Regions from separate parts of the Homo sapiens genome. Here region 2 is linked to region 1. Evidence: promoter capture Hi-C in human tissues and cell types (Jung and others, 2019). All regions are on one chromosome and are shown on one strand. The core of a region is centred on a gene start or on the middle of the fragment in contact, and the rest is flanking DNA. Distances in the headings are between cores, read along the strand shown. Region 1 holds the start of SCUBE1 (signal peptide, CUB domain and EGF like domain containing 1). Region 2 overlaps LOC105373053 (a long non-coding RNA gene).

Region 1 (4,636 bases), core at 301-2,800:
CAGTCACAGGGCTTCCACGGAGAGGGTCGTGGAGGAGACAGAGTCAGATACAGAGAGACACGAGGAGGGACACAGGTGGGGATAGGCACGCCCAGGAACAGTCACTCAGAGGTGAGGGACCCCAAAGCTTGGGAGAGACACCCACAGACACAAGGGGGATGATGGGGCAGCAGGGCTGGGCTTCCAGGAGGGGTGTTGCTGTGGAAGAGTCTCACAGGCCCAGCATCCTCACTCGGGGCACGCGGGACCACCAGGAATAGACCCTACGCCACCCATACCAGACCTCAGGAAGCCGGGAAGGACGTGCAGGACCCTCCCCCTGCCTCCCCCTCCAAGCAGAGCACCGGAGGAAGCGCCTCTGATGACGAGGAGGGGAGAATGTGACTCCAGCTTTTCGGGAAGCCCCTGAAGACAGAGAGCAGGAGGGGACCGGGTGGGAGGGTGGGGGGGTCCCCGTGAAACCCACGGGCCTGGGCCTGTGGCCTCCGGGTCTCCCCCTCCCCTTCCTGGGTCTGCTCCACCGACGTCCCGCGTCCGGACTCTCCTCCCTGTGTCTGTCCTCCGGATCCTCTGCCTTCCTTCCCTCTGTCTTTCCTCCCCGTCCTGTCAGACGGTCCCGGTCCCTCGTCTGCGGCTTTCCAGGTATCTCTGTCCCTCTCTCTTTCCCGGTCTCCCTCTCACCGCCCCCCCCAACCCCGTTTTTCTGCGGCGTCCATCTGTCCCCCGTCTCCTCCTCTCTCTCTCCCTTATCATCGGTGGGACCATCCCTCTTGATTCCCCCTGATCCACCGGCCTCCTCCTCCTTCCCCGGGCGGTGCGGGCCTCCTCTCTACCCTTCCGCATCTGTCTTTTCTCCGGGCTTCCTTTTGTCTGCTCCCTCGGCGCCGGCTCTTCTGTCCGTCTGTCCCGCACCTCCCGCCCCGTCCCGGTCTCTCGGTCCGTCCCTTTCCCCGTCCACCTCCTGGCGTGTCCCCCTCCGCCCGCCCCGCCCCGCGCCCCCTCTCCCAGGAGGAGCGCCCCTCTGCGCTCGGGGTCCCGCCCCGCCCAGGTCCGCACGCGGGGTCCCCGGGAACCGCCGCCTTTCTTCCTCGCTCCCGCGCTCGCGCTTCCCCTCCCGGGGCCCCGGCCCACCCACCCCTGGTGCGGCCCCGCCGGACTCAGGAGCCCCGGCCGCCCGGGCTGCGGGGAGGGGGCGCCCCGGGCCGGCCCTAGAAGTTACTTTGCAAAGAGGCAGGGGGCGCGGGGCCGCGCGGGGCGAGCTCGGGATCCGCGGGGAAGAAGCCCTCCGGGACCGCGCCTCGGCCGCCCGAGCCCCCCGCGCCCGCCGCCCCCCACCTCGGTCGGGGGCTTACCTGGGAGCCCGCTGCCCCCGGCCAGCCGCCCGCGTGTGCCCAGGGCCAGCAGCACGCACAAGTGCCAGCGCACGGCCGCCGCGCCCATGCTCAATGCGGGCCCCGCTGGGCGTGCGGGCGTGCGGGGCGCGGGGACCCGACCGACCGGCCGCTCCCGCAGGCGCTGCTCGCTGCTCGCCGCTCCGCCACCGCTCGGGCTCCCGAGCCGCCCAGCCAGCCCGGCTGATGAGCTGACAGCGCGCGCTCATTGGCCCGTGGCGTCGGAGGGGCGGGGCGTCGCCCAGGGCCGGCCAATGGGCGCCGGCCTCCGGCCCTCCGAGGAAGAGGGGGGCTCGGGCGTCGTCGGGGGGACCCTTCCCCTGGGGCGGGCGGCAGGTGGGGGGTGTGGGCCTGGCCGGCCGGCTCGCTAGGCGCGGGGTCTAGGCCAGGCTGGGGCTGCTTGGAGGCTGCGCCCTCCCCTGCCCGCGGCGCCCCGGCCCCCGCCGTCGAGAGTGGACGCCCCTCTGGGGTAACCCCTCCCGGCCCAGAGGCAGCCTCGGGGGCGGGGATCCTGCGAACCGGGGATCCCGTGAGGTCGCCCGCCATCCGTGGGCAGTGAAACGCGCCAGCGCGCAGAGCAGACTCGCCTGCGCTGCCGTTTGCTGGACGTTTCTTGAGCACCTACTGGGGACCGAGTGCGGGCGAGGCAGCAGCGAAGGAACCGGGAGGGGAAACCTCGTGAAGATCACTTGAAAATTGACGTTCAAAACAAACGAACTTTTTAGCACTCGTCAAAGGACAGTGGCCCGTCAGTGTGCTTGTCACGGGGCGGCCGCAGGACCTGCGTCTGGAACCGGGCGGGCGCCCGGGACGGACAATGCCGCTTGGCGGTCGGTCCCGCGGGAGGCCCCCGCACGGGGCTAACCTCGGCCGGCGAAGTTCGCTGCCCGGAATGCGAGGCCGAGGCCTCCCCCTGTGACAGACCGGGCGGGGCCAGGAGGAGGGGCAGGGCGGGCATCCCGGTCCGAAGACCCAGGAACTGCTCTGGCCTGGCCTGGGGTCTACACCTGACGCCTGGCGAGGGTTGGCTTCGGGTCTGGTCCCACCGGGCCTGGGAGGGACGGGCGGCTGGAAATAAATGGCCCCTCTCAGTTCCAGGCAGGACGCTTTAAGGGACGAAAGTTCAGCAAACCCCAAGGCCCATCTCCTTGACAACCACCAATAAGAGCTCCTTTTTTCTTCTCCTGCTCTCCAGGCCCAACTCAAAGACAACTCTTTTCTCTTTTTGTCCACTCTGCCTGCACCAGTTTGAGCCCCTCCACACCAGCTCCCTTTCCTGCCCCCAACACACACACGCACACACACACACACACACACACACACACACACACACACAGTCACACATGCAGACACATGCTCTCACGTGCAATCACTCAGACACAGCCTCACACCCTCACACCCTCCAGCACACACACGCTCACACATGCTTCTTCACGCCCTCATCCAACCTACCGTAGACGAGCTCCTCAGCCCTGGAAGGTTAAATCTGTGTCCAGCCAGCTCTCACACCCCATCTGACTTCACATCAGCTTGTGGCACGGGCCTGGTGGCTGAGGCAAGGGGTCCCCTACATGGGGATCGGGGGTGTGGGGGGTCCAGAGATGCCCAAAGAAGAAGGAAGCGCTGCCTGTTGTCTCCACTGAGCCCCCACCCCATTGCTCCAGACATTTCGGTCTGCACGGCTGCTCCTGGCTGCTGGTTTAATTTGGGAGATGCTGTTGACAGGCTTTATTTTGTCCCCGTCAATTGTGTAGCTTTGAGTTTCTGCAGGGGGTGGGGAGTTCCCTCAGAACCACATATTATCTTGTGCATTGGGCAACAGGGCAAGCAGTGTGAGGTGGTGGGGGAGGTTCTTCCAGGGGGCTCTGACCTACTTGAAACAATGCCCTCTAATGTGCCTGGTCATTAGGCACCCCCCCGCCCAGCCCTAGCCAGGTGCCCCTCAAGCTTGATGGCAGCAAGAGAAGCTTCTTCCAGGCTCCATCCCCACAAATCAAGGCAGGAATGGAGGCAGGTTACTCTGTGACCCCTCAGCCCAGAGGTAGCTGTCCCTTGTACCAAGTTGTAGTCCCCAGCCTGCCCCCAAGCGATTGCTCAGGTCAAGTTTGCTGGTGAATTATCACCCTCTAAGGTGTGCAGGCAGAGAGAAAGTGGTTCCTTCTAGGCAGCTGTTGTCTATGTGGAGGACTCAGCGAGCAGAGGAGGAGGGAAATGGAGAGAAGACACACCTGTAAGCCCCTCACAGGTGAAGGAAAGGAGGCGGCCTGTGGAGCAGAGAAAGAGGAGGTCACTTCTGCCCCAGGGCGCCGTCAGGGAGGCCTCTTAGGACAGGTGACCTGGGCTAGACACAGAACATAAAGAGGATATTTGCCTAATGGATGAGAAGAACAAATAGAGAATCTGCCAAGGTCCATGAGTGAAGGCGAGGACTGAATAAGTGAGCCAGAGAATGTTCTGGAAGCATCTTGAAAACTGCAGAGCACTGTATGCACATGACAGTGATGTGCTGGAGGGCTGCGTGCAGAAACGGATGAGTCTGTTTTGCACTGCGGTGGGCTGGCAGGTGGGAACCCATAGCCAGGCCTCCAGCACGGGATGGCTTGGAACCTCTGGATGCCAAGCTGGGATAGTGGAGGCCGAAGGCTGCTGAATTGCACAGTGACTTTGGCAGGGAGCACACTATGGCTCCTGTCACCTCCAAATGACCTATGAGCTCTCTGTGTTGCAAACAAGTCATCTCTTACCCCTTTGGGATGTAAGGGATGACTCAGCTTTATGTTCTGTCATCTTTCTAACGGTCCCTAGCCTCACCAAACTGCTGCAAAGGGAACCCCACAGCTGTCCTATTTTTCACACCCCAGAGCCTGCACCCTTTCCCCTGCCAGGAGCACCCTTGGTTTCCCTTCTTCACAGGGCCCACCCCTCCTCTTCTGCCCATACCCTGACCCCTGCCTCCAGCTGGGTGTGAGGCTTCCTCTGGGCTTCCGCAGTCCCCTGGAGTTACCTCATCAGAGCTTGGCTCGCTCTGGGTTTTACCTCTGTCTTCTCCTAGACTGGGGGTTCTCGAGGGCAGGGCTTGCAGCTGATCTATATCTGAGGCCACAGCTCCTAGTTGGGGCCTAAGAAATTATTGCTAAATTAGTGAATGAACGAACAAAGAGACAAGGCAGACATCATTTAACTGATCATTCTTATTGCTCCAGGAAAAAGGAACAATAAGCCAAAGGAGGATTTAAGCCAAATCT
Region 2 (4,523 bases), core at 1,627-4,126, 42 kb after region 1:
TCCAACCAAAGCAGTATTTAGAGGAGTGTTTATAATCTTAAATGCTTGTATTGGCAAATAAGAAATGCTTCATGGCCCAGGTGTGGTGGCTCACGTCTGTAATCTCAGAACTTTGAGAGGCCGAGGTGGGTGGATTGCTTGAGCCCAGGAGTTCGAGACCAGCCTGGGCAACCTGGCAAAACCATGTCTCTACAAAAAATACAAGAATTAGCTGGGCATGGTGGTGCACACCTGTAGTCCCAGTTACTTTGGAGGCTGAGGCAGGAGGATTGCTTGAGCCCAGGAGGTGAAAGTTACAGTGAGCTGAGATGGTGCCACTGCACTCCAGCATGGGCAAAAGAGAAAGACTCTGTCTCAAAAATAAAACAAAAGAAGAAGAAAAAAGAAATGCTTCAAATGAACGAACTAAGCATCTGACTTAAAAGTTAAAATAAGAACAGCAGAATAAACCCCAAGATATTAAAAGGAATCAAATGTTAAGAACAGAAATTAGGGCCAGGCGTGGTGGCTCATGTCTATAATCCCAGCAGTTTGGGAGGCCAAGGTGGGCAGATCATGAGGTCAGGAGATTGAGACCATCCTGGTTAACACAGGTGAAACCCCGTCTCTACTAAAAATACAAAAAAATTAGCCAGGCATGGTGGTGTGCACCTGTAGTCCCAGCTACTCAGGAGGCTGAGGCGGGAGAATGGCATAAACCTGGGAGGTGGAGCTTGCAGTGAGCCGAGATCATGCCACTGCACTCCAGCCTGGGTGACAGAGCGAGACTCCATCTAAAAAAAAAGCACAGAAATTAATGACGTAGAAAACAAACCTAAATGGTTGGGAATGGTGGCTTACACCTGTAATCCCGCACTTTGAGAGGCCGAGGCAGGTGGATCACTTGAGACCAGGAGTTCAAGACCAGCTTGGCCAACATGGCAAAACCCTGTCTCTGCTAAAAAATACAAAAATAAGCCAGGCGTGGTGGTGGGCACCTGTAGTCCCAGCTACTCGGGAGGCTGAGGCAGGAGAATCACTTGAACCCAGGAGTTGGGAGGCTGCAGTGAGCTGAGATCACACCACTGTACTCCAGCTTGGGCAACAGAGTGAGATGCCATCACACAAAAAAACAAAAAACAAACAAACAAACAAAAAAACCGGAAAACAAACCTAAGTAGGGAAGAGAATCAAAGACAAAATATTATTTTTTGAAAGGACTAAAAAATTATAAAAATCTCTTACAAGTTTAAGACATAAGAGAGAGCACAGATAAACAATACTAGGGATGAAAGAAGGGACATAATTCTAGATTTTTCATAGAGTAAATGAATAATATTAAATATCACAAGACTGTTATAAGTGACTGTATGCCAATACATAAGAAGTCTTAAACAAAATTGCCAAATTCCTAGAAAAATACAATTTACTGAAGTTGACTCAAGAAAAAACAGAAAACCTGAAAGGTCCTATAATCACTTAATACATTAATTTAGTAGTTTAAAATCTTCCTATAAAGAAAACGTCTGTCCCAGATGACAATTCCAGATATGTGAATTTGGAATTCACCAAATTAATAGCCCAGCTCTCTCTGGAAGATGGTGGGATGAACCAAATCCTAATTTGGCTAAACAGTCAAAGAACAAATCAGTTCAAGCTTACCCAAATTTCTACTCCACAGTGGAGAAACACAGTCAACACTTACCAGTTTACCTTATTCGGTTAGCATAAGCTGGCTAATCAGATGATGACAGTACAATAAAGAAAACTTTCAAGTCAATTTTACCCATGAGCATAGATTCCAAGAATTCTTGAAAATTATTAGCACAGTGAATTCAGCAATAATAATAAAAAATACAGTACAGGCCGGGTGCAGTGGCTCACGCCTATAATCCCAGCACTTTGGGAGGCCGAGGCAGGTGAATTGCCCGAGCTCAGGAGATTGAGACCACCTGGGCAACATGGTAAAACCCGTCTCTACTAAAAATACAAAAAATTAGCCAGGTGTGGTGGCAGGCGCCTGTAGTCCCAGCTACTTGGGAGACTGAGGCAGGAGAATCTCTTGGACCCTGGAGGCAGAGGTTGCAGTGAGCCGAGATCGTGCCACTGCACTCCAGCCTGGGCTACAGAGTGAGACTCCATCTCAAAGAAAAAAAAAACAAAAACAAAAAACCCCAGCATATTATGATGAAGTTATGTTTATCTTATGAATGCAATTCCTATTATTAGGAAATTAATTAATATAATTCATTCCATTAACAGCTTAAAGAAAAAACACATAATCATTGCAATAGGACCTGGGTGACATCAGGCACTATTGTTCACCTGGTTGAGGTTTGGGAGACTTTACGACTTATACTGTGGGCAGGAGATAGTGGAGGGGCCCCGTCTATGGGAATCGGGTGGGAAACTGAGAAGGGTGTGCATGGAAGTGGCAATGATTATGAATCTGGCTTTGGACAAAATAGGATAGGAGGTAGTACTCTACGCGCCCCCTTCCTGCTTTTTGGGGCCTGGAGAGGAAACCCAAGTTATCTAAATGGCTTGACTCTTCCTCTCCCTCTGCCCACACCCACCCCCATCTCGCTATCTCACTGTAAGTCTCTTCTGTGATTATTATCACCTGGGGGTTGCAACCTCCAAAGCCTACAGTGGCCAGACAGGTGGCAAAAATGTATAACGTGGGCTGAGCGTAAAAAATATTAGATATTACACAGTTTACATATAATGCATTTTGGTTGCATGCTTCTTAAAAATTGCCTTCTGTCACCTGAAGAAAATTGTTTCTGATTTTTTTTCTTCAAATAGGCAGACTTCTCTGCCCAGCTTTCTTTCCTGCACACTTGATGGGGCAAGGAAATACTCCCTCGCTGTAAAAAGCACATCAGTGAAGCCCAGTGCTCGACAGCAGCTGACCTGGGCCCCCAGAGCTGGGGATGCAGCAGGGAGCGGTGAAGCCTGTAGCAAACTGAAGAGTGTGTGTCCCAATCCGAAATCACAGCCCAGATGTAGTTCAAGGCAATTTTTGTCATCTTAAAAAACGGGCCTGGGGAGAATCCACAGAGTTTGGTGATGAGTTGGATGGGAGATGTGGGGTTAAGGAGCTCAGAGAAGTTTTGGGAGATGCCAGGTTTCAGGCTGGGGGTCTCTGTGCAGTGGTGCCTCCCACTGACAGAAGACAGAGAGGGAAGGGCAATGGCTTTGGACAAACTGAGTTTGCAACTGGCTGTAGGACATCCTGGGGGCTGTCGTGGGTGGGTCAGGGCTCCAGGAGGCAGCCCATTCTCTCTGGAAGACGGTGGGACGAACCAATACGGCCTCTGAGTCTGACTCTGCGTCTACCTCAGGCAAATTGCGTCAGCCTCTGGAGTCTCCTTTTCTTCTGCACGGAGGCAGTGATACCATGAAGCCTCCACTTCTGTGAAATGGAGACTTGGACCTGGTCAGTGGTTCCGTGCTTCTTTTGATTATTCGCCGCACCCCAGCCTGGCAGAGGCACTTGATGTTATCCGGAGCCTGGGCTGCCTGGGTGGGGACACAAGCCTCCATTTCACAGAAGAAGTGGAGTCTTTCATGCACCAAGGCAGCGGAGGGGGCAGGACACAGCCTGGGCCCCTCGCAGACCCTAGAGGTCCCCGACGTGGCCCCTTCCTCCTCTGAGCCTTGCTGGCTGCAACCGCCCAGTCGTTCTCAGCAGGGATGGAAGAAGCCTCAGTGCGAAGCCCGGCGATGGCCGGGGCGCTGCTGCCCTCGTGTGGCCGACATGGAGAGGTGCCGGTTATGATGAGCAGGGAGTGATTTTCTGGCGAAACGCGGCCGCACGGCTCAGGCTGTTCCACTGACAAACTGCAGCTGACTCTCCCTGTTGACCGGGGTTTGATTCCAGCACTGCCCAGCTGGAACCCAGCACTGCGTGACACTGGGAATGTCTCTTTTCTGGGCCTCAGTTTCCCCAGCTGGAAAATGATGGAAGCAGGGGTTTTATGGGGGCTAAGTGAAGTCACGGATGTGAGAGTACCAAGCATTGTGCAAGGTGGTTGGTGTGTGCACGGTCCAAATTTGCCCATCCAGTCTTTCTTTCTCTTTCTTACTCTTTCTTTCTTTCTCTCTCTTTCTTTCTTTTCTTTCTTTCTTCTTTCTTTCTTTTCCTTCCTTTTCTTTCTTCTTTCTTTTCCTTCCTTCCTTCCTTCCTCCCTCCCTCCCTCCCTCCCTCCCTCTTTCTTTCTTCTTCTTTTCTTTCTTTCTTTCTTTCTCTTTCTTTTCTCTCTCTCTTTCCTTTCTTTCTTTGTTTTCTTTCTTTCTTCTTTCTTCCTTTTCCTTCCTTCCTCCCTCCCTCCCTCTTTCTTTCTTCTTTCTTTCTTTCTTCCTTTCTTTTCTCTCTCTTTCTTTCTTTCCTCTCTCTCTCTTTCTTTCTTTCCTCTCTCTCTCTTTCTTTCTTTCCTTCTTTCTTTCTTTTCAGAGTTTCGCTTTTGTTGCCCAGGCTGGAGTTCAATGGTGCTATCTCAGCTCACTGTAACCTCCGCCTCCCAGGTTCAAGCGATTCT

Evidence for each region. Contacts are between HindIII fragments. The study calls those that stand out against the background at their distance.
Region 2: a fragment that was not itself captured here is called in contact with the fragment with the promoter of SCUBE1 in region 1 in 1 of the 25 tissues and cell types used here (IMR-90 fibroblasts).

The regions. Positions count from the first base shown.
Region 1 is chr22:43,341,822-43,346,457 of GRCh38, forward strand. SCUBE1 (signal peptide, CUB domain and EGF like domain containing 1) reads right to left here and starts at 1,551. Exons shown (of 22, transcript NM_173050.5): 1 at 1,353-1,551. The coding sequence starts at 1,440. The HindIII fragment of the contact is 4,801 bases long and covers 1-4,377 here.
Region 2 is chr22:43,382,148-43,386,670 of GRCh38, forward strand. The region is part of intron 3 of LOC105373053 (a long non-coding RNA gene); the gene reads right to left. Among named protein-coding and RNA genes, the nearest start is that of LINC01639, 16 kb to the right of the region's middle. The HindIII fragment of the contact is 8,457 bases long and covers 1-4,523 here.